2 separate regions of the Homo sapiens genome follow, and region 1 is linked to region 2. Evidence: promoter capture Hi-C in human tissues and cell types (Jung and others, 2019). All regions are on one chromosome and are shown on one strand. Each heading gives the region's core, a stretch centred on a gene start or on the middle of the fragment in contact. The rest is flanking DNA. Distances are from core to core; before and after follow the strand shown. Region 1 overlaps MYO7B (myosin VIIB). Region 2 holds the start of SFT2D3 (SFT2 domain containing 3).

Region 1 (3,074 bases), core at 163-2,662, 130 kb after region 2:
TGCCCAGGACGTACAGAAGACTGAGTGAGATGACTCAGTGTCTTCCTAATGAAAGGGTGGCCCACAGGCCAGCAGCAGGCTCGGAATGCAGATGCCCAGGTCACACAGGCTCTGTTGATCAGAATCTGCATTTTCACCAGATCCCCAGAGGATTCCTGCACTTTGGAGTTTGCAAAACAGACTCCCACAGTCCCATTATCCAGCTTCAACTCCCGGCCAATTTTGTTTCCCGTCCTGTACTATTTTAAAGCAAATCCCAGATGTTGCTTCATCTGAAAATATTACCTTTTTTTTTTTTTTTTTTTTGAGACGGAGTCTCACTCTGTCACCCAGGCTGGAGTACAGTGGCATGATTTCGGCTCACTGCAACCTCCACCTCCTGGGTGCAAGTGATTCTCATGCCTCAGCTTCCTGAGTAGCTGGGATTACTGGTGGCTGCCACCACACCCAGGTAATTTTTATATTTTTAGTAGAGATAAGGTTTCACCATGTTGACCAGTCTGGTCTCAAACTCCTGACCTCAGATGATCTGCCCGCCTCGGCCTCCCAAAGTGCTGGGATTACAGGCATAAACCACCGTGCTTGGCCTGAAAATACTGTCTTTTTTTTTTTTTGAGACGGAGTCTTGCTGTTGTTGGCCTGGGCTGGAGTGCAATGGCACGATCTCAGCTCACTGCAACCTCCGCCCACTCCAGTTCCAGCAATTCTCCTGCCTCACCCTCCTGAGTAGCTGAGATTACAGGCGTCGGCCACCAAGCCTGGCTAATTTTTATATTTTTAGTAGAGACGGGGTTTCACCATGTTGGCCAGGCTGGTCTTGAACTCCTGACCTCAGGTGATCCACCTGCCTCAGCCTCCCAAAGTGCTGGGATTACAAGCGTGAGCTACCGCACCCGGCCAAAATATTACCTTTTTTAAAAGTTATGATCAAAATACCCACAATCACTATGCCAGCAAAGCAGAGTGAGATCAACAAACCTCCAGTGATAGCTGTGGACTCCCCTGAGTGCCTGTCAAGCGCCAGGCGTTTTTATAAACACGAGCTCATCAAATAACCTGCCATTGTAGAGACAGGGGCTTAAGGGGACTTGCCCACAGCCCTGGGGGAGGAAAGGGCAGGAGGAGAATGCAATTTGATTCAAAGTGACAAGTGACATTCTGCTCACTGCAAGGAACCAAAATCAGGGGGCTCTTTCCTCTCCTTGTTCACACTGCCAGCCCCGCCAACCTCCAGGTAGAGCCACACCGTAAGCTCCCTGGCCAGCCAGCCTGCGGCCCAGCTCTGCTGAGGGGCCTCTTGCCCTGCCTCTGGGGGCAGGTTGGGAGTTCCAGCTTTCTCCCAGAGTACCTGTCTGCTGTCTTCTCCAGAGCCCTGGGTTTGAATTTCCCACTTCACTGCTGTGTACCACTGGAACAGGATCTCAGCCCCTCTGATTGTAGGTCTCTCCAGCAGTAACATGAGACCATATCATGGGAATAAGAGCATCTCTTTCAGAGGGTTGCTGAGGACATGAAATGTGATCACCTGTGCCTTAGGACTTCATTCTGGTCTCTGTTCAACATCCCTCCTCAGAGAGGCCGTGCCTGGCCTGCCCCCTATCTAATGAAGAGGCCGACATCACCCTTTCCTCTCCCCTGCTGTGTTTTTCTTCAAAGCTGTTAGGACCTACATAAAAACGCACTTATTTGTTGCCTGTCTGTCTCCGCTTCTAGAATATAAGCTCCCTGAGGAAGGGATTCTGGTCCCTTTTGTTAGCTGCTGCCTCACCATGTTAGGACAGTTGGGGGCACTCAGTTGGGGCATGACAAAACCTCAAATGATTGAATGAATGAATGAATGAATGAATGAATCCCCCAGGTGGATCATGTCATCCACGCCATGGACTGAGTTGGGGTGCATGGGGCTGAGGACACCAAAGTTCTCTGCTAGGATCCAGTGTTCCTGGAACAACGGGTGCAGACTCCCCTGAGGGGTGGCTTCCATCCCCGTGGCCAGCCTGCCACACCCTCCCCTCCAAGTTCTCAGGGTCTGTGGTCACTGGTAGAGAGGCCAGGCCAGGCAGGGAGTCTCTGAAGCAGTCAGGACCTGGACTGGAGGGGACACTTTCCTTCTGGTCCCCTAGTGAACTGAGAGCTGTCCCCTGGAGCTGCTGCTCCTCTGTCCTCACCTGAGGCCTGCCCTGTGTTTTTTTTTGAGTGGGCCCTCACCTGTTCAACTCCTGCAGCTTTAAGTGCCTAACCTGGGTCCCATATCTTTTTCTTTTTTTATTTTTACAGAGAGAGGGTCTTGCTATGTTGTCTAGGCTGGTCTCAAACTTCTGGCCTCAAGCAATCCTCCTCCTTTGACCTCCCAAGTCCCTGGGATTATAGGCATGAGCTACTATGCCCGACTCCTGGGGCCCATTTCTAAAGGAACCCAGCCCAACTTCCTTCCTTGACTCAGTAAACCTTTATTAAAAGCTGGGCAGTCCAGTCCCTGGTGACACGATGAAAGCCTAGGTTCTGAAGGAAGGAAGCTTTGGGGGAACTGCTCGGGGTGCAGGGTAACTGGGGCCGTTGTGTGCTGTGGAGATGGGTGTGTGCCATGGAGTAGGGAGAGCTCTCATCTCGCCTGATCTTGCAGGCATGCTGGTGGGGAGCAGTTCAGGGAGATGCCTGGAGGTGGTGCCTGACCCCTCTGCCTCACCTGATGATGCAGCACTGGTCCCTCTTGTTCCTCTTCATGCTGAAGTAGCAGTTGTTGGCGATGGCAAAGACATGCGGGGGCAGCTCGCCCATATGGCGGCTGTAGTAGAGCTGTACCTGCTCCAGGGTGTAGAGCGGCAGCACCTGGAACGGGTTGACGGCCACCAGGATGGAGCCTGTGTATGTCTGGGAAGGAAGCAGGTGGTCAGTGCCCTCTGCCCCTGGCAGAGGTACTCGGCCCTGGCCTTGGCCTTGGCCTTGGCTCTGGCTCTGCCCTCGGGGTTATCAGGGCCACTGACTTTGGTGGGGAAGTAGAATCTGATTCTGGGCCAGGGAGATCAGACATTCAGCTGCGCAGATCTCTCCTCTGGGAAGATGGGATATCCACC
Region 2 (3,464 bases), core at 680-3,179:
CCCTGTTAAGGCAACACTGGGATCCAGCTCAGGAAAAGCATTACTTTCAAATTGTGCAAGCCAATGCACAGAAAAGTGGTCCTCAAACTTGGGGAACGTAGAATCACTTGGGGAGCTTTAAAAAGGTCCTGATGTCTGGGACCTACTTCCCAGGTTCTGACTGCATTGATCTGAGGTGTGGCTCTTCAAGTAACTGATGTGCAGTCAAGCGCGAGGACCACTGGCACACAATGTTTAAATTCTAAATATATTTTACTTCCTAGTGTATTGCTACTGACAAAACGTAGTTTTCTGGACTCATCAGAATGTTAGGCTCATACCTTCTGGCAATAAATTAAGGTAGTTAAAAGTAACTGCTGAACCTAAAATGAAGGCAGCAGCAATTAGATATAAAAAAATCTTAAGATCAGCCTGCAAATTGTAAACTAGTTTACAAAGCAGGCTATACAATGAGGAATAATTCGAGCTTGTAGAAATCCATGGTTTCCACCAGATACAGGTATTCCGGATCTAGAATTATCTTTCTATTTGCAGGATTTCCGAAGAGACCGTTAAGCATCTACGCGCCCCTTCCTGGATCCCATGCTTCTTGGGGCAGGAAATTTCTTTTGGTCCGTCGCTTTCGTCGTGAAATACACAACTAATTTTCCTTTCATGTTATAAGGCACCATATTTATGATTTTGTTAACTGAAGAAAAAACCCGAGATAAACCATCTTAAGTACTTTTAAAAGTCCAGTGGCTGAATTCGGTGTTTAATCTGATACCCTTCTGGATTCGCTGACACTGGAGAGAATAATTTCCAAGTCTTAGTATAGCCAAAACAAAAAACTACCGTCGCTAAGCTACATCTACCACTGGATTTTAAAATGACAAAACAGCCTGAGAAAAATCACAAGAGCAGCTAACTCGAAGAAAAATCCTTTTTCTTTACTCAGCCGAACCTAAGACCACAGTTACTTCGAAAGCAACTTCTAATAACCGTCTCACATCCTGTCACCAGTTCAATGACAAAATCTCAGTTTTCAGAGCGTGTGCCAAGTCCAGCACAAAAAGCTGACATCGAGGAGCTCCCAACGCTGCTGTCGCCTCCGCTGGCAGCAGCCGCTCCCGGATTAGACTCGCAGGCTGTTAGGGCAGGGCCTTCGCCACGGGCTTCCGCACAGCGGCGTGCAGTCCTCAGCTCGGCCGGCGCGGTCTCCGACGGCGCTGGCTCCGCGTACTTCCCCAGCGGCGAGGGCGCGAGGTCCTCACACGGGCAGCACCTTGGCGAGGCCGGCGCCGCGGCCCAGGCGACCCAGTGCGAGGCGCAGCGCGGTGCCGCCGCCCCAGGGCAGCAGCCCAACCAGCGCGGCCAGCAGCGCGGCCACCTGCGCGCCCGCGCCCAGCACCGTGAGCAGCGTGCTGCGAAGGCCCAGCGCGGCGAACAGCGTGGCGCCCAGCGCTGCCATGTAGAGCAGCGCGGGCCGGGACGGCGCTTCTTCGCAGCGCAGCAGGCGTCCGCACGCCGCGCCGCCCCGCAGCAGCGCGCTTCCCGCCAACGCCAGCGCCGAGCCCAGTGACCAGAGCAGCGCGAACTTGCGCGCGCGCAGCAGCAACACCGGTGCGTAGAGCGCGGCTAGGCCGAAACACAGTGCAGCCAGCAGCAGGCACCCGCCGCCCGCCGCCAGCCGCTGCCCGCGCGTCACGCTCGGGAGGCACGTCAGGCCGGCCGCTGCCGACTCCGCAGGGCTCCGCGCCCACGTCCAGCGCAAGCCCGCGCGGCCCAGCCACTCCTCCGCCGGCCGGTCCCCGGGCTCCTCCGCCTTCTCCGCGGCGAGCAGCGGCTCCGCGGCCGCCGGGCCGCCAGCTTTCCCCTGCGCCAGGTACTCCTGCAGCTGGCGGTGGAGGTCCGCCATCTTGGACAAGGCGGTGGCAGAAAGGAAAAGCTGCGGCTCACTTCCGGCCCTCCGCTGAAGCGGTTCGGTCTTCGGGCGGCAATTGGTCGGCGACGGCGAAAGGGGCAGGGCCTGCGGCGCTCGCGGAAGTGCCGCGGTGCCTGCTCTGCGGACTTTTGTGGTGTCCCCAAGTACCGTGGTCGCAGGTGCTGCCTGTCCGCTTGCAGTCGCCCTCCCAGCGCCTGACCCTCTTCCTTGTTCGGAGTAGGCGCCCTTGCGGTCTGGCTAAGTCCTGCCAGCATTAATAGTTGGAAGGCAGGGGTGGGTGTGGTTCTAAAGGGGCACAAGAAGTGACCCTTTTGCTGACGGAAATGTCTTATGGCCTCACTGCGTCTACCGTGGCGGTGATATTGTGCTAGTTTTGCAACATGGAGGAATGGGTAAAGGGTACACAGAATCTCTCTTGTTTCTTACAACTGAACACAAACAGTGATCTCAAAATAAAAATTTAATTTTTAAAAAAGTTCAGACCTGTGTAACTCAGGTGGGTTTTTTGGGGAAAGTTGCGTTCTGATTAGTTACCTCACTTGTAGTAATAGTGACCATCCTGATCATTTACCATGGGGTTGATAAAGGAAGGGTTGACACCCAGCACCCTCAACCTGCTTCTCTATTCTGTTCTCAGTTTCGGCCACAGGCCTGGCAACATCCTTGACTCCTTCGCGCCCCTTGTCCAAGACTCGGTGCTGCTGTCCCATGTGTTTGGTGTCACTCTCGTGCTCTGGACAGCGCCACGCCCAGGTGTCCTGACTCATCGTCACATCACTGTGACAAGCTGGCTCGCACGCAGGTCAATCCTGATCTGTTCCCAGGCCGCACCCACGTGCCCTGCTGTTTCTCAGAGCCTCCTAGAGGGTGTTTGCTTGTGGTTCCTCTCACAGGTCAGATTCCTCCAGATTCTTCCAGCTGCCTCCACAGCTCCCCTCACCACCTTGGCTTCCCCTGGGTGGCCCTGTGTCCTTTGTCCTCTGCCCTAGGTGGATGTAAGGTTAACGGCTTCCTGCTGTTTGGCTTCTCAGCCTTTCCATCCCCTGTGTGTAACTAATCTCCCCCATTAAGTTCCTTTTAATGCTTTCTGTTTTCTTGGTTGGATCCTGGCAGATGCAATTCTTTTTCAAAATATATTCTGATTTGTTATCTCACTTGATAATAATAGTGACCAGCCTGATCACTTAGCATGGGCTAAACCATTAGGATGGCTACAATCAAAACAAAAAAACAAAAACACACCAGAAAGTTACAAGTGCTGTCAAGGATGTGGAGAAACTAGAAGCCTTGTGCACCGTTGGTGGGAATGTAAAATGCTATATCCGCTGTGGAAAACAGTATGGAAGTTACTATAAAAAAAAAATATATATATATATATATACACACACACACACACAGACACATATAAACGTATATACACACATATTTGTATACAGTTATGTGTGTATGTGTGTATATAATTACAATCCAATCCAGCAGTTCCACTCTGGATATATACCCCAAAGAATTGAAAGCAGGGTCTCAGAGATTTGTATAACTC

Evidence for each region. The method cuts DNA at HindIII sites, captures the fragments that hold promoters and counts their contacts. A contact is called where the count stands out against the background at its distance.
Region 1: a fragment that was not itself captured here is called in contact with the fragment with the promoter of SFT2D3 in region 2 in 1 of the 25 tissues and cell types used here (H1 embryonic stem cells).

Annotation. Positions count from the first base shown.
Region 1 is chr2:127,566,440-127,569,513 of GRCh38, reverse strand. It overlaps MYO7B (myosin VIIB), which reads right to left. Exons shown (of 48, transcript NM_001393586.1): 5 at 2,687-2,871. All of the region lies in intron 1 of LOC105373609 (a long non-coding RNA gene), which reads left to right. Among named protein-coding and RNA genes, the nearest start is that of MYO7B, 32 kb to the right of the region's middle. The HindIII fragment of the contact is 4,339 bases long and covers 1-3,074 here.
Region 2 is chr2:127,699,962-127,703,425 of GRCh38, reverse strand. SFT2D3 (SFT2 domain containing 3) reads right to left here and starts at 1,929. Exons shown (of 1, transcript NM_032740.4): 1 at 1-1,929. The coding sequence starts at 1,897. The coding sequence ends at 1,250. It overlaps WDR33 (WD repeat domain 33), which reads left to right. Exons shown (of 22, transcript NM_018383.5): 22 at 1-2,399. RefSeq lists a silencer at 1,171-1,850 and enhancers at 2,170-2,691, 2,611-2,980, 2,692-3,213, 2,208-3,407. The HindIII fragment of the contact is 9,833 bases long and covers 1-3,464 here.